Regions from separate parts of the Homo sapiens genome. Here regions 2, 3, 4, 5 and 6 are each linked to region 1. The links are contacts of gene promoters, found by promoter capture Hi-C in blood cells and fetal thymus (Javierre and others, 2016). All regions are on one chromosome and are shown on one strand. Each heading gives the region's core, a stretch centred on a gene start or on the middle of the fragment in contact. The rest is flanking DNA. Distances are from core to core; before and after follow the strand shown. Region 1 holds the start of TAGAP (T cell activation RhoGTPase activating protein). Region 2 has its middle 3.9 kb from the start of IGF2R. Region 3 has its middle 31 kb from the start of IGF2R. Region 4 overlaps WTAP (WT1 associated protein). Region 5 has its middle 8.1 kb from the start of SOD2. Region 6 overlaps SOD2 (superoxide dismutase 2).

Region 1 (4,963 bases), core at 1,362-3,861:
ACTTGAGAAAGCAAAGGGCGTGAATCTTAATCTAGAAAAACCAACCGATAAACAACCACACTGTTACCAGGGCAACCAGTTCCCTAAACAGCAACACCAGAGTTCCTCAAGGCCTCCACCTTTCCTGTTTTCACTCTTTCCAGCTGTTTGCTACAGAAAATTAGCAAAACCTAACTGTGCTGATCATAAACAACCATCTTAACCTACTGGCCTGAATAACTATAGAGGAAATTTCTGATATGAAATAGATTATTTTGATTTCCTCCTTTAACTGGCGAAGAAAACGAAACTTAAAAGGTGAGGAAGTGACTTGCTGAATATCTTTTCGAAGGCACATAGCAGGGCTGGCTCCAACCCTTTGCAGCCACGCAGGCACTAAACAGCCACTAGAGGGAGCTAACACCATTTTTCCTTCCAGGTGACTGGTCACCTTGGGTTTTCCAGGTTGCTGCTTTAGGACAGAGGCAAATACGAATCGCTGCGGGAAGCCTTGAACCTAGATCTGGCAACTGGGAATTATCAGCAAAACGTTATCAAGATATTCTGTCCTTCTGAAATCCACAAGATGTGTGTGCAATGGATATTGCAATCTCAAACATTTCCTTCTTTCTTTTCTTTTCCTTCCTTCCTTCCTTCTCCTTTCTTACTAATTATAAAGGCTATATTTTCTAAATGCATTGGCATCTGTTTCTATACATTTCAGATTGGCAAGTGGAAGCATGATGAGAAAGAAGTGGCCTGTCTTTATGGTTCAGGAGAACTGGGTCAGGGTTACGCTATAATGAAATGCATTATGAAAAAAGTTGAGAGTGAATGGTGGGTCCTTTGGGATTTGAGATCAGCAACAGTTGCTTCATAGGCTCTTGGATGCATTCTCCATAAGAGAAGGAAGAAAATGGAAAAGACACTGTGTGTTTTTCAAATGTGTGCATGCTAATTGTCGAAACATACATGGCCAGGAGATTGAACCGCATTAAAAACGCTTGGCAGAACTGGGGATTCTCTATGGAGAGGCTCTTTCCTTTCCCAGCACTCCCTGCTCTAGTGAGTTGGAGCATACCTGCCATTTAAGGGTTAATGTTCTGCGGTCTTTAACAGAACAACTTATACAAAAAAATTCCTAGTAGAGTAAAAGCGCTGTGGTTTTGCAAACCAAGAGCACTGGTTGTTAGCACTTACATAAAAGATCGGTATGTTTTTAAAACTCACCAATGAGCTGGCAAATACTGTCTTCACTCTCACATGATGCCAACAGGGGATGTTCCTTGATATCACCCTAAAAACATTTTTATTTCAGTTAAATATAGTGACTGAAGAAACCTATCGAGTCTTTCCCCACAAAACACACATACAGCATTTTATTCATATTAAAAATGAAGTCAGTAGAGTGCATTGATGTTTTTTCTAGCTTCTAGAAGCAATATTAAGGTCTTGATTGTCATCATATAAGATCCTAATTAATGTGCTTAATTTACTACATGTGTGATGTTAGTTTACTACTCTTATAATTACTATTCAACCCAAATAATATTCAATTAAAACAAAGTTTTCCACCTTCTCACAGTACAGATAAAAAGTCTTAAAAATTGCTTTCTTACCTCTGATTGACATTCGATTAGTGTCTCCATATTATTGGCGTTTAGTGTTTTTGACTAAAAGAGAAAAAATAAAATTAGGTAAATATCTTTTGGCCCTTGCCTGTAGGAAACGTGAATGAATGAATGTGAGAGGGGCACTCACAGCATTGTGGCTGCTTCTCAGCTTCATCAGTATTGCGGCTGACTGTCCAGGGGTGGATTTCACTCCCGTGTGGCTGTGCCTCTGTCTACAACGAATCACATGGAAAGGAGTTAGGAGGGACTCACACAGTAGGCCACTTTCAGCGCCACTTTGCCAAAGCACAGAGTTTGAAACTATTTATTTATTTTTCTCTTTTGCTATTTTTTCACTTGCCTTTACTTTGGAAAAAACTATTACATAGACAAGTTTTCATTTAAAATCAGTTCTGTTACCAGATGTTGTATGTTGTTAAGAGCAGCATCTGAACACAATTATTTCTAAATTATTTAAGTCAACTATCTTTACCACTCTAAACGTTGTTACCAATTTATTCCGTTCCATCAAGAGATAATCTGGATATCAATTACGTTAACATTTTAAATTAACATGAACATTAACTTTTTTGGTGGAGTGCTGACTATATGCCAGCTGTCGTAGTAGGTGCTTTGCATGGATTTTCTCATCTAATCCAAAAAGGAAAAAAAAAAAAACATATCCCTAGGATGCTAAAATAGTAAACATGAAACAAAGATAACATTTACAGAACTCCTACACCAAAAAGGTGCAGCCTTCACGTTGAAGCAAAGCTTTGTCCTGAGACTTTATAAAGTGAGAGCATATTCCACGGGATAGCTGTTTTCTGTTGCCTGTGATCTGAGTGACCTGTGACTTGCGAGGCAGCTTGTAATTTCTAGGCATGTTAATATATAGTGTACTTACCCTTGGAGGGTCTCTAGCCAGAGTTCTTTTACATCCGGTGAGCTGTAAAGAATGGGAGAAACAGCATAACTCTCTGCTCCTTCTAGTCCACTGGGAGAGAGAGAGACCGAGCCGGTCTCCCTTCACATGCTCTGCATTATAAGCGAAGGGGCGGGCAGGTGGAAATTCAGAATATTACAGAGACCGGAAAGAACATCATGGGCTGTCACACGGACGGAGCCAGCCAGACACTGGAGAGCTCTCGCTTCCTCATTCCTTTTAGGGCAGCTATGTCTTTTTTTTTTTTTTTTTTTTTTTTTTTTTTTGTGTCTTCCACTTCAAAGTAAAAAATCTGTAAACTACTAGGAGTGGAAAACATGACATTCAGCCCATAGGTGAAGGCTCTGATTAATGTCATAGGTGGGATGTGTGAACAAGAAATTGTGTTATTCTGTGCATAAACATCACTTTATTTTCTAAAGTGGTAATTTCAAGTGCCTCTTTTTGCATCCTGTTTGGGTGCTCTTTCCCCTCCCACGTGCCATCTGCTCTGTCCACCAGCACCACACGTTGATTAGCACCCCTGGATGTGGGACACTGTTACAGAACCAGAAAGAAACCCAAGACAGTCCCTTCCTTGAGGAACAATCACCGTCCAAAGCCAGGTTAGTTTCCTTTGGAAGTAGAAAGAAAACTCCCTCGAGTCAGTTGTCAATATAGTAACCCCCTCCTCCTTTCTGTAACTCCTGGTCAAAAGTATTGATACTTAATTTACAGTCAGAGCAGCTGTCGTTCTGACACGGAAGGAAAACAAACAAAAAAATTCCTTTGATCAGACCAACTTAAAGTAGGAAAGAGATGGTGAATTTCATTTGTGGATCACTCTTCTGCATAAGAGAATTTCTGATCTTTTCTGTAGATCAAGGGCTATATATGAAACCACTCAAATGCCTCGACACGAGAATGGATGCATAAATTGTGATCCATTCACATAGGGAATGAATGTTGTATAGCACTGATAATGAACAGCCTATGACTATAGCCAACAATATGGTTGGATCTCATAATATGACGCTGAGCAAAAGAAGCCAGACGTGAAAGTGTATATCCTGCCGGCTCCCATTAATGCAAAGCACAAAATTAGCAAAAGTCGTCTGTGCTGTTGGAAGCAAGAGTAGCAGTTTCCCAGAGGGGATGGTAATGACTTCCAGGGGCCAGCGGGGGGCTTGGTGATGGTCCATTCTTGATCTGGGTGGTGCTAGGCTTATGTGCACACTTCCCTATTTATGTAATTTTTCAATAAAAAGTTTTAAAATAACTTGGCTTCATTTATCATCAGCATCTTTAATTTTAAGACTTTTCCGCATTGTCAGTTCTTTTGTCATTTTACTGAAAGGAGGTGATTATGGGGCAGACTTTGGGAAACCGAAGCACAGAGAGGTCGAAATTTGCTCTGTAACTTAGCGGCTCGGTGGGGACCTAGGGACAGATCCTGGTTTTCAGGCTTCCAGCTGGGGGCTCCCTCTCTGAAAGCCACCACAGTGCCAGAGTTCACCCAGTGTTCCCAGGGCAGCTGTAGAGGCCACCACTCTTTCAGCATCCCTCTCCTGCCTTTATAAACCTCCAAAGTGAACTCACTGATTTTTTTAATTGAAAAAGGGCATTTACGCTGTGCCCAGCCTAGTGCTAGGCATATAGTAGGTACTAAATAACTAATTTCTGAATATATACATTTCCTTATAAAATAGCCAAAATAGAATATTACTATAATGTTCTATATATCATAGAATATATATGTGATGTATATTCATTGCTAGTATGTATTTTCTAAACTTTTTTTTTTCCCGACAAACGGACTTTTCAAATTTTTGTAAGAAACTTAATGTACTTACTGTTCTTTCTTTTTTTTTTTTTTTGAGATGGAGTTTCGCTCTTGTCACCCAGGCTGGAGTGCAATGGCGTGATCTCGGCTCACTGCAACCTCTGCCTCCTGGGTTCAAGTGATTCTCCTGTCTCAACCTCCTGAGTAGTTGGAATTACAGGCACGCGCCACCATACCTGGCTAATTTTTGTATTTTTAGTAGAGATGGGGTTTCGCCATGTTGGCCAGGCTGGTCTGGAAATCCTGACCTCAGGTGATCCACCCATCTTGGCCTCCCAAAGTGCTGGGATTACAGATGTGAGCCACTGTGCCCAGCCTCAGCATCTTTTAAAAATACATAACATGAATGGTTTGATGACCTGCAGAAATGGTTACATCGACGGACTTTTCTTTTTCTTCTGGGACCTACCATGCCTAGTTAAGCACCCAGGGAACTATCTAGGATGAAAAGTTAGTAGCAAATACGGCAACAGAATTAGGGCCCCTCCATTTTTTGAAACAGAAATATGTTTTGGCTCTTCTTATTGACACAACTGATGGTGGGAAAGCCCAGAGGGAGGTGCCATCCTTTGGGGTCCCTGGGAGATTTTGACAGTCAACATC
Region 2 (4,963 bases), core at 1,256-3,755, 920 kb after region 1:
CCTCAGGCTGACGGAGAGGACTCAAGGAATGACAAGCCTTCAGATCTGAAGGCATTCAGATTTCATGGGAAAAGGTTTGTTTCCATTTATTGGATAGCAGACTGGCCAGGCTGGAGCTGGCCTGCACTAGTATGCAAGTTGGGGAGCAGGTGGTCAGCACCTCATGGTATGGATGTCCTGGGAACAGCAGGAGAATCTCTTCTGCAGTTTGCCTCCAGTGTCCTCTGCTCAGAAAGCTTAATGTCATTTAGTTGAAAGGAGAACTGCTTAAATGGATTCCTTTATCACAGAGCATATACTAGAAGATGCATTCAAAGCAGAGAGGCAATACATTAATAACACATGCACTTGGCTTAGGCATATTTATTTATTCTATCACAAAACAAAAGATCGGATACAAGAGTTTTGGTGAAGTGGACCAGTGTCATTCAGGATCCTGATGTCTTCCGTCTTGTTCCCACTGTGTTGGCCACATTTTCCCTCACAGTTATGAGGGGACAGCAGTTTCATATAGAAATTACTGCATCCAGACAACAAAAAAACACAAAAGGGGAAGGGATTTCTGTTTTGCAACTCTTTTTATTGGAGAGAAAGCATTTTGCAGAAGATCTCAGGAGACTTCCCATCGAGTTCCATCATCAGGACTGGGTCATACGCCCTTGCTCTGGCTGTAAGAATGTCTGGGAAGTGAGAATCTCACACCCACAGCCTCTGGTGGAGGTGGGCTTTGCCAGCAATCAAGGGCATGAGATGCCTGCAGGAAGGCAGCCAACCACACCTGCCTCATGCCTCTAACCCTATTCCCCTCTAAATTCCCATGCCAAAGCCTTAGGGCATTATCTTTGATAGTTACCTGGCCAGGTGTTAACTAACTGGGAACTGGGTGTTTTTGAAGGACACAAGGCTTTCTGCTGTCGAATTTGTCACCTTAATTGTGATACTTTTAATAAATTAGCTTCCAGTCTATCTTAAAACCAGATGGATTTTCCTGATGTGTCACCGTGAACATCTCTCTTTCTCCAAATCTCTCAATGAGGAGGCAGTTGATGAGTTAACTGCATGGGCTTTGGTCCCAGATCATACAGCTCACATCCAAGCGCTGTCACTTACCAACTGCATGACCTTGGGCAAGGTATATAATTTCTTTATGACTGAATTGCTCATCTTTTCAAGGAGGGTAATAAAATTACCTATTTGGTGGGATTGGTATTAACAGTAAATGATATAATACAGGAATGGTATTGACAGTGAGCCTTCAGTATGTATTATTGTATCTGCTGTTATTGTTCCCTACTTCATATCCAGCCAAATCTAAGCTTATTAGATGACCATTTAAGATCCTCTAGGAGCTGGGCACAATAAAAATTTTCAAACTTATATAAAAATTGACTACGTCCTAAACTGCGAGCTCCTTGAGGGAGGGATTATATTTTATGAGCCCAGGATCTAGCACAGTTTTTGGCCAAAAGTAGTTTTTCTTTATTCCCATGTGACTTTTGCTTAAGCAAAAGGCCTTGTACAGCAAATACAGCTTCTGTATTTTACCATGGCCTTGCACTTGCTGTTCTTTGTGCCTACAATGTCCTTTCCCTAAATTTCCCCCATTCTTCCAGATTCACTCAAAAGCAATCTCTTTCATGATGAGATCTCTTTCCCAATTCTCATTTTGAAAAATGTCAAACCTATAGAAAAGTTGAAAGAATAGTACAAGAGCACTGATATATTCTTCACTACATTTGTGACTGTTAATATTTTTAACCTCTGCTTGCTATTCATACATATATTCTTTTTTTCCCCTGAAATCATTTGAAAGTTGCCAACATCATGACACTTCACTTTCAGCATGTATCACATAAGAACAAGCACATCGTCCTATGTAATCACAGTAGCTTTATCTTATGAAATTTAACATTGATTCAATATTATTTACTGTACATTTTTTCTTGGCAGTTTATGATCTTAGAAATCAAGAAGCCTAAAATGAATCACTGTGTGTTTTGAGGGTCTTTTGGTAGAATCATGTTCCTTTCTGGGTGTTCTAAAAAGTTCCTGGATCTTTGGGGTGAGATTCTGTTTGAGTTTCAGAACAATGTGTGCATGCCATCAGTTTGATAGCTCATGGTTTGTGTTCCAAAGGGGCAGCTATTAGTGTTACCTGTCCCTGCTATTGCTCTTGACATCATGCAGGGACATCCTCAGTAGCTGCTCTTTCTGCCCTTGGTCTGTCATTTGAGCTTGTGTTTCCAAAGTCAGATGCAGGAAGATTGGGTCCTCACAACAGGGCGGTGGTTGGAGCACCTGGATGCCAAGCCTGGATCTGTCCTATCATTTGAGGGACATTTGTGTTCTTGGCTATTTGTGTTCTTAGGCTGCCATAACAAAGTACCTCTGGGTGGCTTAAAATGACAGAAATTGTCTCACACAGTTCTGGAGGCCGGAAGTCCAAAACCAAGGCATTGGCAGGGTCACGCTCCCTCTGAAGGCTCTAGGGGAGAATCTGTTCCATGCCTTTGTCCCAGCTTCTGGTGTTGCTGGCAATCCTTGGTGTTCCTTGGCTTGTAGATGCATAGCACCTCCATTCTCATATGGCTGCCTTCTCCTTGTGTGTTTCTTGCCCACTTCTTGAAAGTACACCAGTCATACTGGATTAAGAACCCACCCTACTCTAGTATAACCTCATCATAATTTATCCATAAGGAATGACCCTATTTTCAAATAAGGTCACACTTGAAGTACTGGGGGTTATGAGTTCAACGTATTCTTTTAGGGGACACAATTCAGCCTATAACAGGGGGTCTTAGGCTGATATCTGTGAGTCTCTGCTTCCTCAAAGGTTTTTCAGAAAATTTAAATGAAATACAGGAGAATTATGCCCTGCAGTATTTGACTTTACAGCAGGAGTCCCCCAACCCTCCGGGCCATGGACTTGTACTGGTCTGTGGCCTGTTAGGAACCTGGCCGCACAGCAGGAGAACGAGGGCATTACCGCTGAGCTCCGCCTCCTGTCAGATAAGTGGTGGTGCAAACCCTATTGTGCATGAGAGGGGTCTAGGGTGGACTGTCCTTGTGATGCCTGATGAAACATCCCCCACAACAGCCCTCCACCATCCATGGAAAAATTGTCTTCCACGAAATTGGTGCCTGGTGCCAAAAGGTTGGGGACTGCTGCTTTAAAGTCCCTTATATAGGATTTACATTAAAAATTTTCCAGTGGTCTCCAAATGTCCCTTATACCTTCCTATTTTTGGGTCTAGGCTCCAAGTAAGAATCACGCATTGCATTTTGTCATGCCTTTTTAGTCTCCTTTAATTTAGGACAATGGTTCTCAAACTTCCATGTGTATGAGAATCTCCTGGAGAGCTTGCTAGAGCAATCTCCTGGTGCCAAACTTCCACGTTTATGAGAATCTCCTGGAGAGCTTGCTAGAGCAATCTCCTGGTGCCAAACTTCCACGTGTATGAGAATCTCCTGGAGAGCTTGCTAGAGCAATCTCCCGGTGCCAAACTTCCATGTGTATGAGAATCTCCTGGAGAGCTTGCTAGAGCAATCTCCTGGTGCCCATCTCCAGAGATTTTCATTCAATAGGTTGAGGCAGGACCCATGAAATGGCATTTCTAACAAGCTGGTAGGTGACACAAAAGTTGCTTGTCTAAGGACCGCACTTTTGAAAACCACTGATCTAGAACAGAGGTTGGCAAGCTTTTTCTGCGGAGGGCCATATGGTAAAATATGTTAGCATTTTCAGGTCATACAGTCTCTGTTGCAACGACTCAACTGTGTCATTGCAGGCAAAAGCAGCCCTAGATAATACATAAACACATGGGTGTGGCCGTATTCCCACAAAACTTTATTTACAAAACAGCTGCCTTACCACATTTGACCCACAGGTTATTGCTTGCTACATGGATTTAGAGTAGCACTTCCACTTTTTTTCTCTTTTTTTTTTTGGAGGAGAGTTGTTTTTTCAGCGCATTAATATTTTGCAATAGTCCAGTTCAGTTTTCTTGTCATATGTTTCACAGTTTGAATTTGATTGTTTTATCTCAATTAGATTAAGTTGAACTTCTTGGCAAGACTACTTGTGATAGTGTGTACGGTAGGGAATAACTGTGAAAGACTTTGAAATGGACCAAAAATATTAGTGGTCAACTGTAATGGAATGCTAGCTGTTTAGTACAGTCTTTTGGGTTATCTGATTCTATGGGGTCTTGTGTCTGCCACTGTCTTTGAGGTATTTTACAACTCTGTAAATTGTAGACTACTGATGGTAATATACACGATTTTTGTCTTTAGAAATGCAAATTGTGTCTATTGCGTACGCAGCTGTTTTTTGACCTATGGTTACTGACCAATTTTCCATCTATAGACAACCTTATTTCAGCATTCCTAACTGCTTGAATATTTGTTGGATTCTCCTTGGATTTTCCTTTGAACCAGCTGTGACATGTTACCGGTTCTCACATTAATGAATGAGCTAAGGAATACCTTTGATACATGTTCATTCTACATCTGAGTCATGATTATACCATCTTTTAAATATTACCCTTTAGCATTTTTTATTGCATCACTTTAGAAAGCAGAAAATGCTAGTTTTTTAAAAATTGGTGATACTAGTTTTAATTACTTGATTAAGGTGGTTCTACCAGATCTTTCCATTGTGAAGAGGTATTTTGTGTTTTTTAAGGAAGTATACTTTGAAGGTGATACTTTGAGACAAAGAGAATATTCCGCTTCACAATAATTTTTCACCAGATGGTTTTAGTATTTACTGATGGTCTTTGCCTGTATCCATTATAACACTGGAGTTGCAAAACACAAACCCTTTTTCTTTTTTTTTTTTTTTGAGATGGAATCTCGCTCTGTTTCCCAGGCTGGAGTGCAGTGGCACGATCTCTGCTCACTGCAACCTCTGCCTCCTGGGTTCAAGCGATTCTCCTGCCTCAGCCTCCCGAGTAGCTGGGAC
Region 3 (4,963 bases), core at 979-3,478, 890 kb after region 1:
GCAGCCAAGTAGGCATTTCTCTTCCAAATAACAAGCTTGATTCCACTGTTGGATTTTTAAAAAACTTTTATTTATCTTCACCAATTATTTAACTTTGATTTTCATGCCTTCTCACTGAATAAATATTCCTAAATAGGTTAAAATAACAGAGAAATGAAATCATCTAAAGACATTAGTCACACAGTGTGCTCTGGTGATAAGACTCCTGGACTGCATGAGGAAAAAGTGTTGCTTCTGGCCCTGCCATGAAGTTGTTGTGTGATCGTGGAAGCCGTTCACCATCTCTGGACCTGTTCCTTCCCCTGTCAAATTAAATGGGGAGGGCTCTCAGGTGGGCAATTACTATTTTTTTGATGTTCACTTTCTATCTCCTTTTTCTTTTGGTAATGAGACCCTGTATTTCCTTTGGGGAACCACCCCTCTTCTACAGTCAGTCATTTAGTTCAGCTGGGGGACCACCATGAGCTTGAGATGTGGGATCCCCTCTGTGACAGTGGGAGTTGGAAAGGATGCTTCTCATAGCATGAAAGGATAACTAGAAACAACATTTTTATGAAAGTAAAAATGGCTAGCAAGTCAAACTATTTCTTATCTCCTGTATTAGTCAGCGACTGCTGCGTAACAAATTACTATGAACTTAGCAGCCAGAACAACACACACTTATTATCTCAGTGTTTCTGCAGGTCAGAAGCCTGGGCATGGCTCATCTGGGTTCTGAGCTTCAGCATCTCACTAGGCTGAAGTCAATGTGTTGACTCAGCTGCAGTGTCATCAGAGACTCAACCAGGGAAGGATCCACTCCCAAGCTCCCTCAGCTTGTTGGCAGAATTCATTTCCTTCTTCTTGCAGGGTTGAGGCTTTGCATTCTTGCTGAAGCTGCTCTCAGCAATGGCAGTTTGCCTGCAGTTCCTTGCCATATGGGCTTCTTCACCATGGCCACTTACTTCATGTCAGATTTTTCAAGGCCAGTAAGGGAGAGTACAGTATGTCTGCTCCTAAGAGGGAGACTTATATATATGGTAACTTAATCATAAAGGGACATCCCATTATCTCTGCCATATCCTGTTAGTTACAAGTAAGTCCCAGGTCCTGCCCACACTCAAGGGGAGGAGAGTACCCAGAGGCATGATCCCAGAAGGTGGGTGTCTTTGGGGGTCACTTTGGGTCTTTCCACTACATTCTCCATTGAACCTTCTATGTGGAAAGACTGACTTGACATGTCAATGAATATTTAATGCCTTCTCCATTCCATTTGGTAAGTGTCTCCAAGTCTTGGACTGACACTGCCCTTATTGTACATACTGTTCAATGGTTTTATCTTGAGTTCCTTGTGATTTTATTGTAGTAAAAGGCCATTTATGGAATTCCACTCTGTAGCATGCATTGTTGTGTTCAGGCGCCAATGTATTTGCTTTCATTTTAACACTTGGGTTTAGTGGATGGAGTTTCTCCTGGGCAAATCTGTGACCCAGGAAACACAGCAACCTGGTTGGTGCTAGTGTGTGACAGAGCCCTGTGTCTTTGTGTTTACCCGTCTGTGAGATTATCCCATTAGTGGGACACTCCTCAGTAGAAGACCTTTCTCAGCAGGGGGCTGATCCCCAGGTCACAGAATGGATGTTTTCATATCCTCCATTTGTGTTATGCCAGAGCAGCGGTGATAGATGATGAGAGCCGGAAGTCCTCTTCTTTAACTTCCCATGCTTCCATACCTTCCATCAGCACTGAGATTTTTAGATTCTCCTGTGAAAAGACTTTCAAGATCTGCTTTTCTTATCTCTGATTAAACCAGAAAGAAAATGACTTGACCAGGGTTGAGGAGAAGGAGGAACAAAGGGAAGGGTGTTTGAACCAGGAAGGGTTGGGGGAGAAACAAAAACACGTTTGCTCCTGCTGCATGGAGCCATCTATGGCTGTTTCACAGCTTGAAGAAATGCACACCCAACAAATAGGAGTCTGTGGAAGACTGAAGATTTATGGTCATTTTTCAGTTGGGAAGATAATAAAAAAAGAGAGCCGTTACTTTTTATAATGGCTAGGCTGTTTTTCATTAGTTTTAATAAACCTTTCCTTTCCCTAACTTTTCTTCTAAACAGTTACTTGGACCTTTAACAAAAAACAACTTTTTATTTTAGAATAGTTTTAGATTTACAGGCAAATCACACAGATCATACAGAAGGTTCCACGTTCCCTGCTCCCCTAACTTTCTGTCCAGCCCTGCCCATTGCCCAGTGCCAGGCTCATGCAGGTCATCAATACCATGCTCCTAGGGAGACAGAGCTAGAGACAGCCTCTTTTCCTACTTCCTTCTTAGCATGTAACTGTCTCACAATTTCTGAAGATCGAGAGTGATGTTGGAAGAGGGAAATGAGGGACGGGAAGGAGGTACAATAAATTCTTTAATATTCCCAAATGTGATTTTAATGTCTAATTTCAGCCCCCGTGTCTGGAAATCTTTACAGAAACTGCTAGCAAGTGTCCAGAACGAGGGACACCCCGTAGTCCTTGTTCCTACAGGAGAGGGCACTCCTCCTTGCCAGTGGGAGTGGCTACATGAGGCCTTTGGTTTGCTGTCAGCTTGGCTCTGAGGCTGGTTTGGGGAGCCAATGATGGATGAATTTTCTGCAGAGCTTCCCATCATCCACAAAGGCCCAGAAAATTCTCTGTTGCAACTTGTTGGCAGCAGTGCTAAGACCCTTTGAGCAAAAGACAGGTCATGCTCACCTTTAAGAAGAGGTTGTAGGCTTTCCCCCTTGACTTGGAAGGAAAAAGGAATTCCAAATCTCCAGGATAAGATGGACCTCAGAGCCATTTTTAAACTTCTCATGCTCAAATTCCTCTACTGCAGTCAAAACAGCATGCCATTGGCATAAAGATAGACAAATAGATTAATGGAACAGAGTAGAGAGTCCAGAAATATACTCACACATATATGGACAACTGATTTTTGACAAAAGATGCTGGAACAGGTGCAAAAAAAAAAAAAAAAAAAGGAGAAGAAGAAGAAACTTAGCTCCTTGAATCCATAATTTAAAGTGTGTTCAAAAACTAACAAATGTTGGGTGCGGTGGTTCATACCTATAATCCCAGCACTTTGAGAGGTCGAAGCAGGTGGATCACTTGGGCCCAGGAGTTTGAGACCAGCCTAGGCAATAAGGGGAGACCCCATCTCTACTAAAAGAAATACACAAAATTAGCCAGGTGGGGTGACGTGCACCTGTAGTCCCAGCTACTCGAGAGGCTGAGGTGAGAGAATCACCTGAGCTCAGGAAGTTGAGGCTGCAGTGAGCTGAGATCATGTCACTGCACTCCAGCCTGAGCAATGGGAGTGAGACCCTAAAAAAACAAAAACCAAAAGCTAACAAATGAGATTATAGACTTAAATGTAAAATCCAAAACTATAGCATTTCTACAAATTATAGGAGAAAACCTTTGTTACCTTGGGTTAGGCAAAGAAAGATTTCTTACATACGGTGTCAAAAGCACCATCCGTAAAGTAACAAAGTGATGAACTGTACTTTATGAAAATTAAAAACTTGGCCATTGAAAAGGCTCTGTTAAGACAACGAAAAGATAAGCAATAAATGGGCAGAAAATATTCGCCAAGCATGTATGTGAAAAGGACTTTATCTAAAATATATAAAGAACTCTCAGAACTCAACAATGAAGAAACAAACAAGCCCATTTAAAAATGGGTAAAAACTTTGAACAGACGCTTCACAAAGAAGATATATGGGTGGCAAATAAGCACATGAAAAGCTGTTCTACATCATTAGACATTATCAGTAAAACCACAGTGAGATACCACTACATACCCATTAAGATGGCTGAAATTTAAAAGTCTGATGATACCAAGTGTTGGCAAAGATGTAGAAAAACTGGAAGTCTCAGACACTACTGATGGGAATATAAAATGGTACAACCATCTTTGCAAGTAGTAGACCCACCATGTATTCCATGCATTCCATCCATTCCACTCCTAGATACTTACCCCCCAAAAACTGATAAATGTCCAACGATAGGTGAATGGATACACTGGTATACCCATACAGTGGGATATTATTCAGCAATAAAACTGAGTGAACTATTGATACACAGGAGACAAATGTCAAAATTATGCTGAGCAAAAGAATCCACATAAAAAGGAGTACATACTATATGGTTCCATTTATATTAAATTAGAAAATTCCCTCTAATCTATGGAGACAGAAGACAGATCAGTGGTTGCTTTCGGGGGGCAGAAAGGTATACAAAGGAGGGACAAAGGACAGTTTTGTGGGGGATGGATGCGTTCACTATCTTGATGGTGCTGATGGTTTTACGGGTGTATGCATATGTCAAAACTTACCAAGCTGTTCAGTTTAAATGGACAATTTATTGTATATCAATAAGCAAGTCATTGCATGTTAATGATACCCCAATAAAGCTTTTTAAATTAAAAAAAAAAATCCCTTACTGAACCACTGCCAAGAGCTTTTCAGCAAAGCTCCCTTTATCAAAATCAGAGATAAGGCGGTGCCAAAACTGCAAATAAAATGGAGTCATTTGTACTGAATAAGAGGAAGTTTTCCAGTCACATGAGTTTTCTCCAGAGGGATTCAGTCAGTGGGACTGGGCCAGGGTGAACAGCAGGGCTGGCAGGTCAGCAAGTCCAAGAGGCTTCACTCCATCTTCAAGTTGAGTGTTCTCATCGCTAAGATGGCAGCCTTGGATAAGATGACCTTTAATACCCAAGACTTCATGGCAGTGGAAACACTGAGCATTTTCTATTGGTCTGGGTTGGGTTTCGTTCTCCACCAGGCACCGGCACTAGTGCTGGCCTTTGCGGCCCTCAACTCCTTGGCATGTGTGTCCTCAGGGTCAACATTAGCCCCTTGCGCCTGTGGGGAGGATTCATGGAGTGGTGTCAAAGAGTGCCTGGCTTGTTTTCTTCCTTTTCCTTATTCTAGTGGGAATGAAGTTC
Region 4 (4,963 bases), core at 961-3,460, 690 kb after region 1:
TTGGCCAGACTTGTCTTGAACTTCTGACCTCAAGTGATCCACCCACCAGCCTCCCAAAATGCTGAGATTACAGTCGTGAGCCATCACGCCCAACCAGTGTAACATATATTTTAAAATATGTAATAGGATGGGCGTGGTGGTTCATTCCTGTAATCCCAGCACTTTGGGAGGCCAAGGCGGACGGGTTGCAATGTCAGGAGTTCGAGACCAGCCTGACCAACACGGTGAAACCCCGTCTCTACTAAAAATACAAAAATGAGCCAGGTGTGGTGGCACGCACCTGTAGTCCCAGCTATTTAGGGGGCTGAGGCAGGAGAATTGCTTGAACCCTGGAGGCGGAGGTTGCAGTGACCTGAGATCGCGCCACTGCACTCCATCCTGGGCGACAGAGTGAGACTGTGTCTCAAAAAAAATAAAAATAAAATATATAATATATCTAAAAAACTATTGGGCAGTAGTAAATTATGGCTGTGGTAGGTACTACCTTACTTTAACAACATAATGCTATAAAAGGAAAGACTTAAACTGGTATTACCCTTTTATAGTCCCTTAGCAACATGCGTAGGATACTACTTGAGGTCATTATATTTCTCTTCACCCTTTATGGCGACATCAAATGATTTGAATGGCTGATCAGCTTTTTTACGAGGGAATTTGTAAAAACTACCCAATAACTCTAATGATGGAAGATGTTAACAAAGGAAGATCTGGGTACAGAGTATATAGGAACTCTGTAATATCTTTGCCACTTTTTTGTAAATCTAAAACTATTTTAAAATTGTTTATTTAAATTCTAATTATTCAACAGTAATTTAGTTCACTAATAAATTGATTTGAAAGAGTCAGTATTTTTTATTCCTACTTTCACTGGAAGAAAATAAATTGAACTTGTTTTCCGCAACTTTTTTTTTTAGGATTCAAGATGACCAACGAAGAACCTCTTCCCAAGAAGGTATGGGTTTTGGTTTTGGGTTTTTTTGTTTTGTTTTGGGTTTTTTGGGGGCTTTTTTAAGCACTTTAAAAAAAAATAGACTTGAAGGGATTATCGTTGTTTGCTTATTTTTCATTTCTTTGCCTTTATAACAATAATAGCATTGGAGTTGTACAGTGTGCCAGATATTGTATCTTATATCCAGTATATTTTTTAGAATATTTTCAGATTTTGGAAAACTTTAGTTATAATAATATTCCCATGGTCTACTCTTAATGTTCATTATGTGAATATTTCCAGGTCTACTCTTAATGTTCATTATGTAAATATTTCCAGGTACATATATACAAATAATGTCAAAAATGGACATTATGAGTATATTATTATTCTTTTCCTAGTGTAAATCCCTTTGATTGTAATTAAAAACTACTTTATTAAAAAAATGGTTATAGCTAATTTTCAAATTCTACCTTTTTCTCTGAAGTTTTGTTGTCTAGTCTCAAATCTCCCCCTGTTGTGCATTCCTACCTTGAGTTTAATTACTCTTACATACACACACATACACACACACAGTGGCTGTTATAAAAGAGGTAACATCGTCTCTAGGAGGAATTTGTGATTCAATTGGGAAAGCTTACTAAACTTAATATTTAAGTGAATAATTTAGATATTACAGAAGTTTCCTATTGTGGAGTCAGATTACTCATTAAATGAATAAAGGATTGTATTATGCTTTCATAATCTGAGAATTACTGTGTGCTCCCTCTGGTACCCTTTGATTTTCCTCCCTTGGAACAGGGTCTTGCTCTCTTGCCCAGGTTGGAGTGCAGTGGTGCAATCTTGGCTTACTGCAGTCTCCGCCTCCTGGGCTCAAGCGATCATCCCACCTCGGCCTCCTGAGTATCTGGGGGCTACAAGTACGTGCCACCACGCCCAGCTAATTTTTGTATTTCTTGTAGAGATGGGGTTTTACCATGTTGCCCAGGCTGGTCTCGAACTCCCGGGCTCAAGAGATAGCCACCTGCCTCTGCCTTCCAAAGTGCTGGGATAATAGGCATGAGCTGCCTCTGGCAGCCTTTCAATATGTTACATTATAATAGTTCCCTCGTTCCATTTTATGGTAATACTATTTTACTGGTTAGTATTATAATTTGAAACATTTTTAAGGAAAAAAATTTAAGTGTCTTGTAAGGGAATACTAATAAAGCCTTTATTTTATTTTTATTTTTTATTTTCTGAGACAGAGTCTCACTCTGTTGCCCATGCTGGAGTGCAGTGGTACAATCTTGGCTCATTGTGGCCTCATACCCCAGCTTATGCGATCCTCCCACCTTTGCCCCCCAAAGTAGCTCAGACTACAGGTGTGCCACTACGCCTGGCTAATTTTTGTATTTTTTGGTAGAGATGGGGTTTTGCCATGTTACCCAGGCTGATCTTGAACTCCCGAGTTCAAGATATACTCCCGCCTCAGTCTCCCAAAGTGCAGGAGGCATGAGCCACAATGCCCAGCCAAAGCCTTAATTTTATACTGAGGTAGGAGAGGTATCTCACCTTTACAGCCTTTATTTGGTGTAGTGAATATACTGTTTCTCAATTTTTGAAGCATGTTAGCTTATGCCCTTCTTTCAGCTTTTTGTTTTGAAATAATTATAGATTCATAGGAAGTTGCAAATAAATGTACAGAGAGGTTCTGTGCAACTTTCACTGAGCCTGCTTCATTGTTAACACCTTGCGTGACTAGCAGACATCTCTAATAACTGTGAAAATCAGGGAATTGACATTGGTACAATCCACAGAGCTTATTCACATTTCACGTTATACTAGCACTGTTATTGGGGGAAGTGGGGAAGAGCTATATGCACTATTATCATGTCTAGCTTTGTGTAACCATCATTAATCAAGATACATATCTGAACTATCACCATAAAGCTTCATCGAGTTATTCTTTTATAGCCACATCTACCCCGTCCCTCTCCATGCCTGACCCCTGGCAACCACTAATTTATCTCCATTTGTATAATTGTTACTTCAGAGTGTTATATAAATGTAATCATGTAGTATGCATCTTTTTGAGACTATTTTTTTTCCTTCCACTTAGCACAGTTTCCTTAAGGCTTATACAAATTGTTTCATGTATCAGTAGTCCTGTTTCTTTTTATTGCTTAAAGTGTTCCATGGTGTGGCTGTATGATAGTTCAATCATTTGCCTGTTAAAGGACATTTGGATAGTTTTCAGTTTTTTAGCTTTTACAAGTAAAGCTGCTTGCATGTTTTCATTTCTTTGAGATACATGTTTAAGAGTGCAACTGCTGAGTTATATGGCACATTCATTTTTAGTTGTATTAATAAAAGGAACTGCCATACTTCTTCAGATACCATTTTTATATTCTCACCTGCAGTGTAGGAAACTTCAGTTTCTCTGAATCCTCACCAGCGTTTGGTGTTGCCACTAATTTTTATTTTAGCCATTCTAATCAGTGTGTGGTGATACCTGGGGTTTTAATGTGCATTTTCCTAATGATGATGCCCATTGTTAAGATACCAAATAGTTTACCTTAAAAAAAAAAAACTTTTGTAATAAAATACTTTTTCAAAAAATCATAATATGTACTGAGCCGTTTAAATCTCACACTTGGGAGATGTTTCATAGGTCTCATTATAGAACTTTGTGTCTTCAGGAAGAACACTAAATTCATATTGTAATTCTCTTTATAGGTTCGATTGAGTGAAACAGACTTCAAAGTTATGGCAAGAGATGAGTTAATTCTAAGGTAAAATGTTCTCTGTTCAAAAACAAAGTCTTTCTATAGAACATTATATTGTGACTCTACACTGTAATTGTCTTTGTGCCAGATATTGTTTTTAATGTTGTTCTATCCTCAAATAATTTAATGTACTTTTTGAGCATACTATGACCTATTTCTTATATTAACACCGAGGAAAACGTAACACTTTAAAGAACTACTAGGAAGCTATAAGTTTAACAAATATATGGCTTGTTTTGTGTAGTTTTTCCTTTCGTGTTTAACATTTGAAAAAGAAATGTAATCCTAAAAGATGCACTTATATTTATGGAAGAAATACATAATTTACTAATGAAGTGAGGTTACTTTTTCTTATTAGTGTGACCTTCACCAGCTCATATAACTTCATACTCTTCATTTTCTCATCTGTAAGTTGAAGAGGTTGGGTTAAGTTATTGTTAAAGGTGACTTCCAGTTCTGAATTTCTGCGGTTATCTTGTAAATGTCTTACAAAAGCAGATTGTCAAGTACAACGTATAATCTTTTTAGATTGTGTAAGAAATCAGGAAGTAGGATGTTCTGTGTTTTGTAATTTAAATATATTCTTTCTGTATTTTATTGCTATGGTTAGTAAGTTTCTTGATAACTTAGATAAAAATAAAATAAGTATTTTAACAGGCTGAAAGCGGAGGAGAGAAAAGATGTTTTGTGAGATAGGCTAACACAGATTTTGTTGTTTCCTAGAGTGTGACAATTTCCTACTTTCACCTTTGGACAGCTACTGTATTATGAACACACTTTTTACCTTTTTTTTTTTTTTTTTTTTTTTTTTTTTTTTTGCCATAATCTCATACATAGGACAGTTTCCATTGCATACCTTTGTCTTTCTGCACATAAAATTTAAATTTTTGTTATTCTAAAACACTTCTGTCTTATGCTGAAGTATATACTTAAGATACACTACTACTCAATGCTGGGTTTTTTTTTGTTTGTTTTAATGTGCATATAAATTATAATAGAGGTGAGGTGCTGCTCAGGCTGGTCTTGAATGCCTGGCCTGAAGTGATTCTCTCACCTTGGCCTCCCAAAGTGCTGGGATTACAGGCATGGGCCACCATGCCTGGCCATGATTTTTTTTTTCCCTGTCTCTGGCATTGTATACTTTTTTTAATGCCTTCTTACATAATTGCTCTGGTTAGTCTGTGCAGTCATTTTTTTGATTTAACTGTAGGAGGGGAAAAATCAGTAATCTTAATAAAGAATCATAGAAATGTTTTATTTTAAGATA
Region 5 (4,963 bases), core at 1-2,500, 660 kb after region 1:
AAGAGAAATTATATTTACTATTCATTAAGCAGAAGTGGATCATCATAAAGGTCTTCATCCTCCTCATCTTTATGGTGAGTAGGCTGAGGAAGAGAGGTTGATCTTGCTGTCTGGGGGGTGGGGGGCGGGGGTGGAGGCAGAAGAAAATCTACATAGAAGTGGACCCATGCAGTTCAAACCCATGTTGTTCAAGGGTCAAGTGTATTGCTGTTAAACCTGTGTAGCTCCGTGCCTTTAAACAGCTGCCACTCCCTCTCCCACATTTTTCACACCCAAAAGAATTGGGCCCAGCCTTATCTAATTGGAGCCCAAGATTTGAAACTTTCTTCCTCCTTCTGTCCCTACACAACTTCCCAACTTATCCCTATCTCCTCAAATCCTGATTGGCCTGCTGTCCCATCTCTTACACGACTCTGGTCATCACTCTTGGACCTAAAGCTTGACATTGCTTCTATGCCCTGACCTTGGTCCATCTGCCCCTTAGATGGCATTTGCTTTGTAGCCTCAGTGAAGACCCAGCTTCCTGGAGTTTCCCTTCACAATGGCCCAGCTCATTCTTCCCAACCTAGTCTAGTGAAAGACTCAGACTTGCTGGGGACCCAGGAGGCCAAAAGAGAAGGGTTGTCCCATATTGAGAGTCCGGCAGAGCCCTCCATAAGATCCTTTCATGAGGACTTCCTGCAACATCCTGCCTCCTTTATGGAAATGGACACCACCTCTTCCCCATTACTACTCCACGAGAAAAAAAAAAACAAACATGGTCACTGCATTCTATGTAAGGGTGGGATCTGTCATTATTAAACTGCCAACTTCTAGTTCATATCCCAGGATTTGTCATGGAGTAAGATTGATTTCAGGTGCACAGTTCCAAGAATGACTCTCAAGGGCTACTCAAGCTACTAAAGAGTAGCCCAGACCACTGAGGGCTGTGAGCAAGCATAAGGATCTTGGCTGGCTGAATCTCTGGGCCAGCACAACCCAGGGGCTGCACTCCACACTGTACATCTACTCGGAGCAGCCAAAATAGGTACACAGGAGGAGTGGCCTCGCATACCACCCAGGTCCATGCCAGATTGTGGTCCACTGAGAACAGTATTGATATCACAGTATTTCTGGGAACCTATGTCCCATCTCAGGCAACTCCCAGGACTCAATCCATCTTGGCCTGCATCACCCTCCTCTCGTGCCAGCTTACATCTGCATTTACCCTCTGGTGAGAAATTAGATAAAATCGCATAAAATAAAACTTCATTTTCATGCTAAAGATATTTAGTTTGAGGAACTAGTCAGCTATATGTTGGTACACTAGAGGTGAGCCACTAAAAATGATCACTGTTCAGTTAGATGTGGACAAAACATATTTAAGAGTGGGACAATTATTAAACATTTAAGGGATCAGATTGGTTTCCAGGTGTCTTTAAATGCCACTCCACTTTAGAGAATTAATGGAAATTAGAGACAACACATTACTAGTGTGGTGATGCAGTAGCTCCAGTAATTTTCTGGTTCTTCATCTGAATTCATTTACATGGTTTAAGTTAAAATGCATTGTTGGCCAGGCGCGGTGGCTCACGCCTGTAATCCGAGCACTTTGGGAGGCCGAGGTGGGTGGATCACAAGGTCAGGCGATCGAGACCATCCTGGCTGACACAGCAAAACCCCATCTCCACTAAAAATACAAAAAATTAGCTGGGTGTGGTGGCAGGCGCCTGTAGTCCCAGCTACTCGGGAGGCTGAGGCAGGAGAATGGCATGAACCCAGGAGGCAGAGCTTGCAGTAAGCCAAGATTGCGTCACTGCACTCCAGTCTTGGTGACGTGCGAGACTCTGTCTCAAAAAAAAAAAAAAAAAATCAATGCATTGTTAACATGTGTGGCATGTTTTCCAACTCCCATTTTTTTGATGGCATGGATAAGACTTAGTCTCTAAGTACTAAATGAAGAACAAATATCTCTCTGAGTGCACTTTGAAAGTAATGCTTAAATGTCTGGTCTCTGGGACATAACATCTATCTTTGTTAAACTCTGACTTTTTACTGACCTGATTTTCATTTAGGTTCAGTCTAAGCTTTCCAAATCAAGCAGAGACCTAATTTTCTTAAGCTTCCCTGGAACACAATGTAGGATCTCGGCTTTTAGACTGAACTCTAGGAGACACAAATTCTCAGTGATGGGGTGGTCTCCAAAACCATGAGAAGGAGTCCACTTAAAGCAACTGTCAGGCAAGACAATATGTAAGATTTCCCTGTATTCCACCCACATGCCACCACTGTGAGCAATATAAATATAACCCCACACCTGCTTCCTCTCCAGGCCAATCCCTGGAGATTTGAGAAACCATGGTTAGCATGCTCAAAGATGAGCAGCAGCAGCAGAAGGCAAGACGCTAGAGAAGGCACCTGCCAGCTGCCAACATCTTTCTCCCTCTGTAGGCTGCTGGCCTGCTAGAGGCCTGTGATGAAGTTTTGACTTTAAATCACTTTCAGAGTTTTGCTTCTCACATGGGAGCATTTTGGATAGTGAATTGAGCCTGTGTTCTAACTTAAAGTGATTATAAGACTTTTTATTACTAAAGAACATATATTTTTTAAAAGGTCACGGGACCAAGCTGGGCGTGATAGCACATGCCTATAGTCCCAGCTACTTGGGAGGCTGAGGCCCGAGGATCACCTGAGCCCAGGAGTTCGAGGTTGCAGTGAGCCACGATCATGCCACTGCACTCCAGCCTGGTGACAGAGTGAGACCCTGTTTCAAAAAAAAAAAAAAAAAAAAGTCATGGGACCAGCATTTGATCCAGGGACGAAGGAAAAACAAGCCCATGAAGCAAATTTAATGACCTATTGGGCAATAAAGGAATATCACTTCATGATCTCATCCATGAGTCATTGTTACTGTTAATAGTCACACATCAGTGCTATGGTAGAATCTCAAAATCTCCCACATTTTTGGTATTTGAATGGTACCCAACATTTCCAGCTTGAATGTGGACTTTTCCCCAGCAATTTGTATATTCTATGAGTCATTTCAGTGGGGATTTTAGGAGAGAACCTGTGCTCATTCCCCTTCTTGCCAGAGGATCACCCACCCCGTCAGCCCAAGTGTGACCTTTACAGTTAGAAAGTGCTATACACAGCTGCTTTTCTCTCACTTTTTCCTAGAGAACAAGAACAAAATCTCCCTGCCTTGTATCTAAGGTTTTTCCTACTGAGAAAGAGACTTGTTATTCAGTTCAATGGTTTATGGGCATAAAATATGGATGCCCCAAATAAGGGACCTTACTTTATCATATAAATCTGATGAGCTTAAACATACTTTAGATTACATTCTCTGTAGTTAGTTGTGCCTTTATGCTGCTACGCATTTGTAGTGGCTAACACCTGTAATCCCGGTGCTTTGGGAGGCTGAGGCGGGAGGATCCCTTGAAGCCAGGAGTTCAAGACCAGCCTGGGCAGCAAAGCAAGACCCTGTCTGTATAAAATTTTTTTTTTTTTTTTCTTGAGACTGAGTCTCACTCTATCACCCAGGCTGGAGTGCAGTGGTGCAATCTCAGCTCACTGTAACCTCCGCCTCCCAGGTTGAAGTGATTCTTGTGCCTCAGCCTCCCTAGGAGCTGGGACTACAGACGTGCACTGCCACACCCAGCTAATTTTTGTATTTTAAGTAGATGGGGTTTCACCATGATGACCAGGCTGGTCTCAACCTCCCAACCTCAGACAATCTGCCCACCTCCGCGGCCTCCTGAAGTGCTGGGAATACAGGTGTGAGCCACCCTGCCCAGCCTATAAACAATTTTTTAAAACCTCAGCCAGCAGCAATACAGGGAAGCTCTATCTCTCCAAAAAAAAAAAAAAAAAAAAAAAAAGAAAGAAAGAAAGAAAGAAAAAAAAGCCAGGCATGGTGGTGTGCGCCTGTAGTCCCAGTTACTGAGAGGCTGAGGTGGGAGGATCACTTGAGCCCAGAAGGCAGAGGATGCAGTATGTTGTGATGGCACCACTGCACTCCAGCCTGGGCGACAGAGCAAGACCCTATCTCGAAAAAAAAAAAAAAAAAAAAAAAAGCCAGGTGTTGTGGTATTTGCCTATAGTCCCAGCTACTCAGGAGGCTAAGGTAGGACTGCTTAATCCCAGGGGTTCGAGGCTGCAGTGAGCTCTGATTGCACCACTGCACTCCAGTCTGGCCAACAGTGAAACCTCATCTTTAAAAAAAATGGCTTCCGGCCAGGCATGGTGGCTCACGCCTGTAATCCCAGCACTTTTGAAGGCCGAGGTGGGCAGATCACCTGAGGTTGGGAGTTCGAGACCAGCCTGACCAACATGGAGAGACCCCGTCTCTACAAAAAATACAAAATTAGCCAGGCGTGGTGGCGCATGCCTGTAATCCCAGCTACTTGGGAGGCTGAGGCAGGAGAATAGCTTGAACCCAGGAGATGGAGGTTGCAGTGGGCCAAGATTGCGCCATTGCACTCCAGCCTGGGCGACAAGAGTGAAGGGCTTCTGTTTTTGTATGTATGTATGGAAATTCTGTTGTGTGTGTTTCAAGGAGTGGACAAAGAAAGCAGCTTACTACATGGAAGTTGAGGCTTTACCTCTTTTTTTTTTTTTAAAGGAAGATTTAACAAGTTTCACTTAGTACAATACTTCTAAATGGAAATCACAAGGAAAGATTTAAACCAAAGCCTCAGAATTCCATACAAATGACATGACGAAACTCCTAAAGTATTAGTATTACATCTTAAAATTGTCCCATATGTTAAAAAAAAGTAAAAGTATACACTCAAGTGTACACTCACATGCCTTACAGGATATTAAACCAAAAAGCTAGAATTAACAAACATGCCAAATGTTTTCACTTTGAATCGCATACACAGCCCCTATATTTGATGAGCATCCAAACTTTTCAATGTATTTATGGGGTACAAGAGCAACATTTAACACAAGTGAAACTGCATCAACCTAAATATGCTTA
Region 6 (4,963 bases), core at 623-3,122, 640 kb after region 1:
GATATGACTGGAGATACAGGTCTTGGTCTTAAGAGTAATATTTCAACTACCCATTATTTACTATTCCTTTCCCATGGAAACTCAGTGAAAATGACAGAAGATTATAGGATTTTTAAAGTTTTTGACATGCAAGCATAATGCAGACCTCTTTGATGGTTGACAGATTCTTTTATTAACAGTCAAAAACTTCACACAATTGGAAAATAAATGTTTCTTCAATGAATAATCAAACAAAAATTATCCAGGACCTTATAGGGTTTTCAGTATGTACCAGGCTTGATGCACATCTTAGAAGACAGGACATTATCTTGCTGGGATCATTAGGGTATGACTGAAAGTGAGAAACAGTAATTTGTAAAACATTTACCTAATAATAGCTTTCCCAAACAGTACTTCCCCTGGAATTAAAACAGGAAATACAATTTATGTTTATACGTGGTTTTAGATATGACTCAATATACATAGATTTTAACTTTATGGTTTGGTATTACTTTTTTAAAGGCGCTCAATAGAAATTCAAATCTCACTTTAAGACCATGAATTTCAAGTTGCAATGAAGTGTACAATAAAGTTGTGATTTCTCAACATCAAAGTTTAATTATTACAAAATAGTTCAAGCAACAGATAGAATTTCAAAAACAGTATTTGCTTTGCTTCCTTGTTTTGCTCCAACACTAATCATGCTGAGGTTTTTGAAGCACAGCTATGACTAGGGCAGGCACTGCTGATTCAGTCACAAAAACCCTTCTTGGATGAACAATACTTGTTCTTTTCAGAAGAAAAGCAATTTTACCTTTTCTATTTCTATTATGAAAAACAGAGCTAAACAATTTTTGTATTTTTAGTAGAGACAGGGTTTCACCACGTTGGCCACGCTGGTCTTGAACTCCTTCAAGTGTTCTGCCTGCCTTGGCCTCCCAAAGTGCTGGGATTACAGATGTGAGTCACCCCGCCCAGCCCTAAACAATCTTAAAGTCTCCTTTTCCACCAGATGACTAAAATCTTTAGTTTGTAAATTCCCTTAGTCTCTTAAAATCAATCTATCCAGAAGACAAGAAAGACAAACTTAGTGAAGGAAAGAATGCTTCCTCACTCTCTCACCAGAAAGCCAAAGCAAAAATAGAGCCCCACAGAAATTTCAACATTGAACATTTTTTAAATCTTAAAGCTTAGTAGGAATCAAAAAGCTTTATATAAGTCAGCAGATCTGCAAACCTTGTTAGTTCAATACAAACCATGATCTAGCAGACAACTTATATTCAAAAGCTCATCTTTCAAAAGGTTCCACCTTGCCCGTCTATTTAAACAGTCACGACCTTCCTTAGAGAGGCAAGCAGTAATCTTACATGACACATAAAAGCTGTTTCACTGTGACACATATATAATGAAAAGTAATCAGTCTCCAAAGTTTTTCCAATCCACAAGCATGCATACACACACACACATACACACACCGCTTTGGTACTCTTGTCTCTAATAATTTTTAAAGCCTACTTTTCTAACTGAATTTTAAAAGTACCTTGAATTTAAATTTTTTTTAAACTTCAGTCTTCAATATTGAAACTGCTAAGTTACCCCATTTTTCCATGAAAAAAAAATAGAAAAATAAACTTGGGGAAAAAATTAAAAATAAAAAATAAACTTGGGAAAACATTACTAAATAGGTTTAAGAAAAAAGCCTATATAGGCCAGGTGCAGTGGCTCACACCTGTAATCCCAGCACTTTGGGAGGCTGAGCCAGACGGATCACTTGAGGTCAGGAGTTCGAGACCACCCTGGCCAACATGGTGAAACCCTGTCTCTGCTAAAAATACAAAAAGTAGCCAGGCATGGTAGCATGCACCTGTAATCCCAGCTATTCAGGAGGCTGAGGTGGGACAATCACTTGAACCCGGGAAGTGGAGGTTGCAGTGAGCTCCGGTCGCGCCACTGCACTCCAGCCTGGGCAACAGAGCAAGACTCTGTCTCCAAAAAAAAAGAAAAAAAAAAAACGCCTATATAAAGAAAATATTCCAATAGGAGATAAACCTATGTACACAGAGTTGCTCACCCCAGCATTATCTGTAGTAACAATTAGAAACAAATGAAATATTCAAAAACAGTAAATTAGGCAGATGATGAAACAACATGGCAAATGTATGATGCTAAGCCAAATATACAAAAAGATCCCTGTGAGACGGAGCAGGGACCCCTCTTTGGGGTGTGCCAGGGGGATTCCCACAAGCACAGAAATAAAGGAGAATCTTGAGTTTCCTTCACCGAAAACTCCAGGCACCCAGCTCGCCCCGAGAAGGAAACCAGCAAGCTGATAAGCAAGAAGGTCATAACAGTTTCAAACAATAGCCAGGGAAGTTAGAGTCACCTAGAGACATCCTTAACACGTGCCCCTGAGCTACTTTTCAGAAACCCAGACCCCCACCAAATGGATTCACACAGACGTCAGATAAGGGGGAACACCAGGGACTAAACTCTGACCTCCATTCTTTGCTCTCAGTTTCTTCCTGAGGGGCCTGGCCAGACCTTAATGTTCCTTTCTGCGGACCCCAAGTTTTTAGACAAAGCTTTGCTTCCTTAACCAATCACAAATCAGGGAGTCTTTGAATCCACCATAACCTGTAAGCCCGCCCCCTGCCTACCCCACTTCACCTTTCAGGCCAAACCAATATATAAGCTTCATGTAGTGATTTACAATTTTGGTATACAGCCATACCACCCTGAAGGCACCCGATCTCGACTGATTTACAATTTTGCCTTTAACTTCTGCTTTCCTGAAATTTACCACTGCCTTTAAATACTCTAGCTTGTAGGTCATCATGGAGATTGGGTCTCAAGCATGAGCTGCCCAATTCTCCTTGCTTGGCGCCCTGCAAATAAACATCCTCCTTTCTCCTACTGCAAAAACCACCTTTTTGCAGTTTTGCTGTTGAAGTTTGCCTTTACTGTGCAGGTGAGCAAACCCCAGTTCAGTTCACCTGCTACATTTAAACAGTATACAGCTCTATTTGCAAAAACTATACAGGAACATTTGACCTAACAAAAACCACTGGGTGACATCTACCAGAAGTATCACTGCAGAGGATTACTCGACAAAAAGTGCAATTTTCTATAGAAAGCCGAGTGTTTCCCTTGGGAAAGTGTTAATATTTTATTTTTAAGTAACTGGGGCAAAAGACTAGATTTTCTATAACTGCAATAGAATAGGACTAGAAAGGCATCCCTACAAGTCCCCAAAGTATATGGATGGAATATTTTTGATGGTTTTATAAATGACAATTGTAATTTAGCTCTCTGAAGAAAATGTCCAATCAGATTCAATCACACAAAGCATTTACTATTTTCAATCACTTGCCCAATAACAAAATGTTTAGTAAGAAATTATTCAGAACATTAAGTTGTTTATGAAATAAGTGACTAAGCAACATCAAGAAATGCTACAATAGAGCAGCTTACTGTATTCTGCAGTACTCTATACCACTACAAAAACAGTCATAAAGAGCTTAACATACTCAGCATAACGATCGTGGTTTACTTTTTGCAAGCCATGTATCTTTCAGTTACATTCTCCCAGTTGATTACATTCCAAATAGCTTTTAGATAATCAGGCCTGACATTTTTATACTGAAGGTAGTAAGCGTGCTCCCACACATCAATCCCCAGCAGTGGAATAAGGCCTGTTAGAAAGAAGGGGAAAACAAACCAACCATCAGTTTCAGTCTAAAACATTGCATCTTCTCAATTTCAACTTTTATTATTCTACTCACACAAAATTACCCTTTGTAACAATCTCATTCACTTGTTTTTTTATATAAGTAGGAAATCTAGATAAGAATGAATATTCCTATAAAATATTTTTAATTCACTGTTTACAAAGAAAATGTGACAAATACTAACAATAAAATAGACTTGGGAAAATTAACAACAGTACTTTAATAGCTATTCTTAAAAATACCAACAAATTAATTCAAGAGCCAATTCCCAGCCTTCCTCATGGTGGTCTTAGGAGCAGCAGGAAGGGTGGGTTACATCTGTGGGAGCAGGCAAAAGCCCACTGAGAACCTCCTCCAAAGGGTCTGGGCACTCACAGGGGTTTACGAGGAACCAGCTCTGCTCCCCAAGGCTAATTTTAATCTTTGGGAATACAGAGCAGTTGGAGGACACAGTGTTTTCAGAAATTAAGTGAGGTAAATGAAGAATTTAGTTCTATCTGTAAAACATCCATTTAAAAAAACTTTTGGTCTGGGCGCAGTGGCTCAGGCCTGTAATCCCAGCACTTTGGGAGGCCGAGGCAGGCAGATCTCTTGAGGTCAGGCGTTCGAGACCAGCCTGGCCAACATGGTGAAACCCCGCCTCTACTAAAAATACAAAAAATTAGCCTGGCGAGGTGGCAGGCGCCTGTAATCCCAGCTACTCAGGAAGCTGACGCAGGAGAATTGCTTGAACCTGGGAGGCGGAAGTTGTAGTGAGCCAAGATTGCGCCACTGCACTCCAGCCTGGGCAACAGAGTGAGACTCCATCACGCACACACAAAAACACTCAAAATAAATTATAGCTCTCTCTACAAAAACAATTCTTAACCAGTATGTCTTGATCAGTTGTGAGGGAGGTCACTAGTAATTTATTATTAATAATTTCAAGTAGCAAAATTTATTAATGATTTTTATAAACAAAAGGCCATGACATTCCCTCATTTTCCTTCTAATGTGCTTTCCACAGGGAGAGGAAGGAGTGTAGCTGGGACTCACTTACAAATATCAGCCTTTCTGGTCATGCAGCTCTACAAATAACCTGACTCTACAGATCGGTGCTTACAAATTTTTTGTGGCTTTTACAAATTGTTATGCCATGTCACTGTCCCAAAAGAGCTGTTCAGATTCTGCCAAAATCTGGGTCTATCCTGTGAAGTGAGCCACAGATCAAGAGTATTCCAATGTCAGGGGTAGAAGAAGGGGCAGAGAATGACTGT

The links. The method cuts DNA at HindIII sites, captures the fragments that hold promoters and counts their contacts. A CHiCAGO score of 5 or more calls a contact.
Region 2: a contact is called between a fragment that was not itself captured here and the fragment with the promoter of TAGAP in region 1, in 2 of 17 cell types (neutrophils and M0 macrophages). The highest score is 6.6, in neutrophils.
Region 3: a contact is called between a fragment that was not itself captured here and the fragment with the promoter of TAGAP in region 1, in 1 of 17 cell types (neutrophils). The highest score is 5.3, in neutrophils.
Region 4: a fragment that was not itself captured here is called in contact with the fragment with the promoter of TAGAP in region 1 in 1 of 17 cell types (megakaryocytes); the score reaches 5.5 in megakaryocytes.
Region 5: a contact is called between a fragment that was not itself captured here and the fragment with the promoter of TAGAP in region 1, in 3 of 17 cell types (M0 macrophages, M2 macrophages and neutrophils). The highest score is 9.7, in M0 macrophages.
Region 6: a contact is called between a fragment that was not itself captured here and the fragment with the promoter of TAGAP in region 1, in 2 of 17 cell types (M2 macrophages and megakaryocytes). The highest score is 6.1, in M2 macrophages.

Annotation. Positions count from the first base shown.
Region 1 is chr6:159,042,380-159,047,342 of GRCh38, forward strand. TAGAP (T cell activation RhoGTPase activating protein) reads right to left here and starts at 2,612. Exons shown (of 10, transcript NM_054114.5): 1 at 2,500-2,612; 2 at 1,741-1,825; 3 at 1,599-1,652; 4 at 1,210-1,276. The coding sequence starts at 1,767. TAGAP-AS1 (TAGAP antisense RNA 1) reads left to right here. Exons shown (of 5, transcript NR_183546.1): 5 at 1-677. RefSeq lists an enhancer at 46-315. The HindIII fragment of the contact is 8,846 bases long and covers 2,365-4,963 here.
Region 2 is chr6:159,962,673-159,967,635 of GRCh38, forward strand. No RefSeq gene overlaps it. Among named protein-coding and RNA genes, the nearest start is that of IGF2R, 3.9 kb to the right of the region's middle. The HindIII fragment of the contact is 2,383 bases long and covers 1,315-3,697 here.
Region 3 is chr6:159,935,110-159,940,072 of GRCh38, forward strand. No RefSeq gene overlaps it. Among named protein-coding and RNA genes, the nearest start is that of IGF2R, 31 kb to the right of the region's middle. The HindIII fragment of the contact is 4,391 bases long and covers 34-4,424 here.
Region 4 is chr6:159,735,344-159,740,306 of GRCh38, forward strand. WTAP (WT1 associated protein) reads left to right here. Exons shown (of 8, transcript NM_001270531.2): 2 at 915-952; 3 at 3,647-3,702. The coding sequence starts at 923. It also overlaps a transcript of SOD2 not described here. Among named protein-coding and RNA genes, the nearest start is that of WTAP, 10 kb to the left of the region's middle. The HindIII fragment of the contact is 1,296 bases long and covers 1,563-2,858 here.
Region 5 is chr6:159,698,820-159,703,782 of GRCh38, forward strand. It overlaps a transcript of SOD2 not described here. Among named protein-coding and RNA genes, the nearest start is that of SOD2, 8.1 kb to the left of the region's middle. The HindIII fragment of the contact is 1,628 bases long and covers 437-2,064 here.
Region 6 is chr6:159,678,968-159,683,930 of GRCh38, forward strand. It overlaps SOD2 (superoxide dismutase 2), which reads right to left. Exons shown (of 5, transcript NM_000636.4): 5 at 1-3,671. The coding sequence ends at 3,526. Among named protein-coding and RNA genes, the nearest start is that of SOD2, 12 kb to the right of the region's middle. The HindIII fragment of the contact is 1,374 bases long and covers 1,186-2,559 here.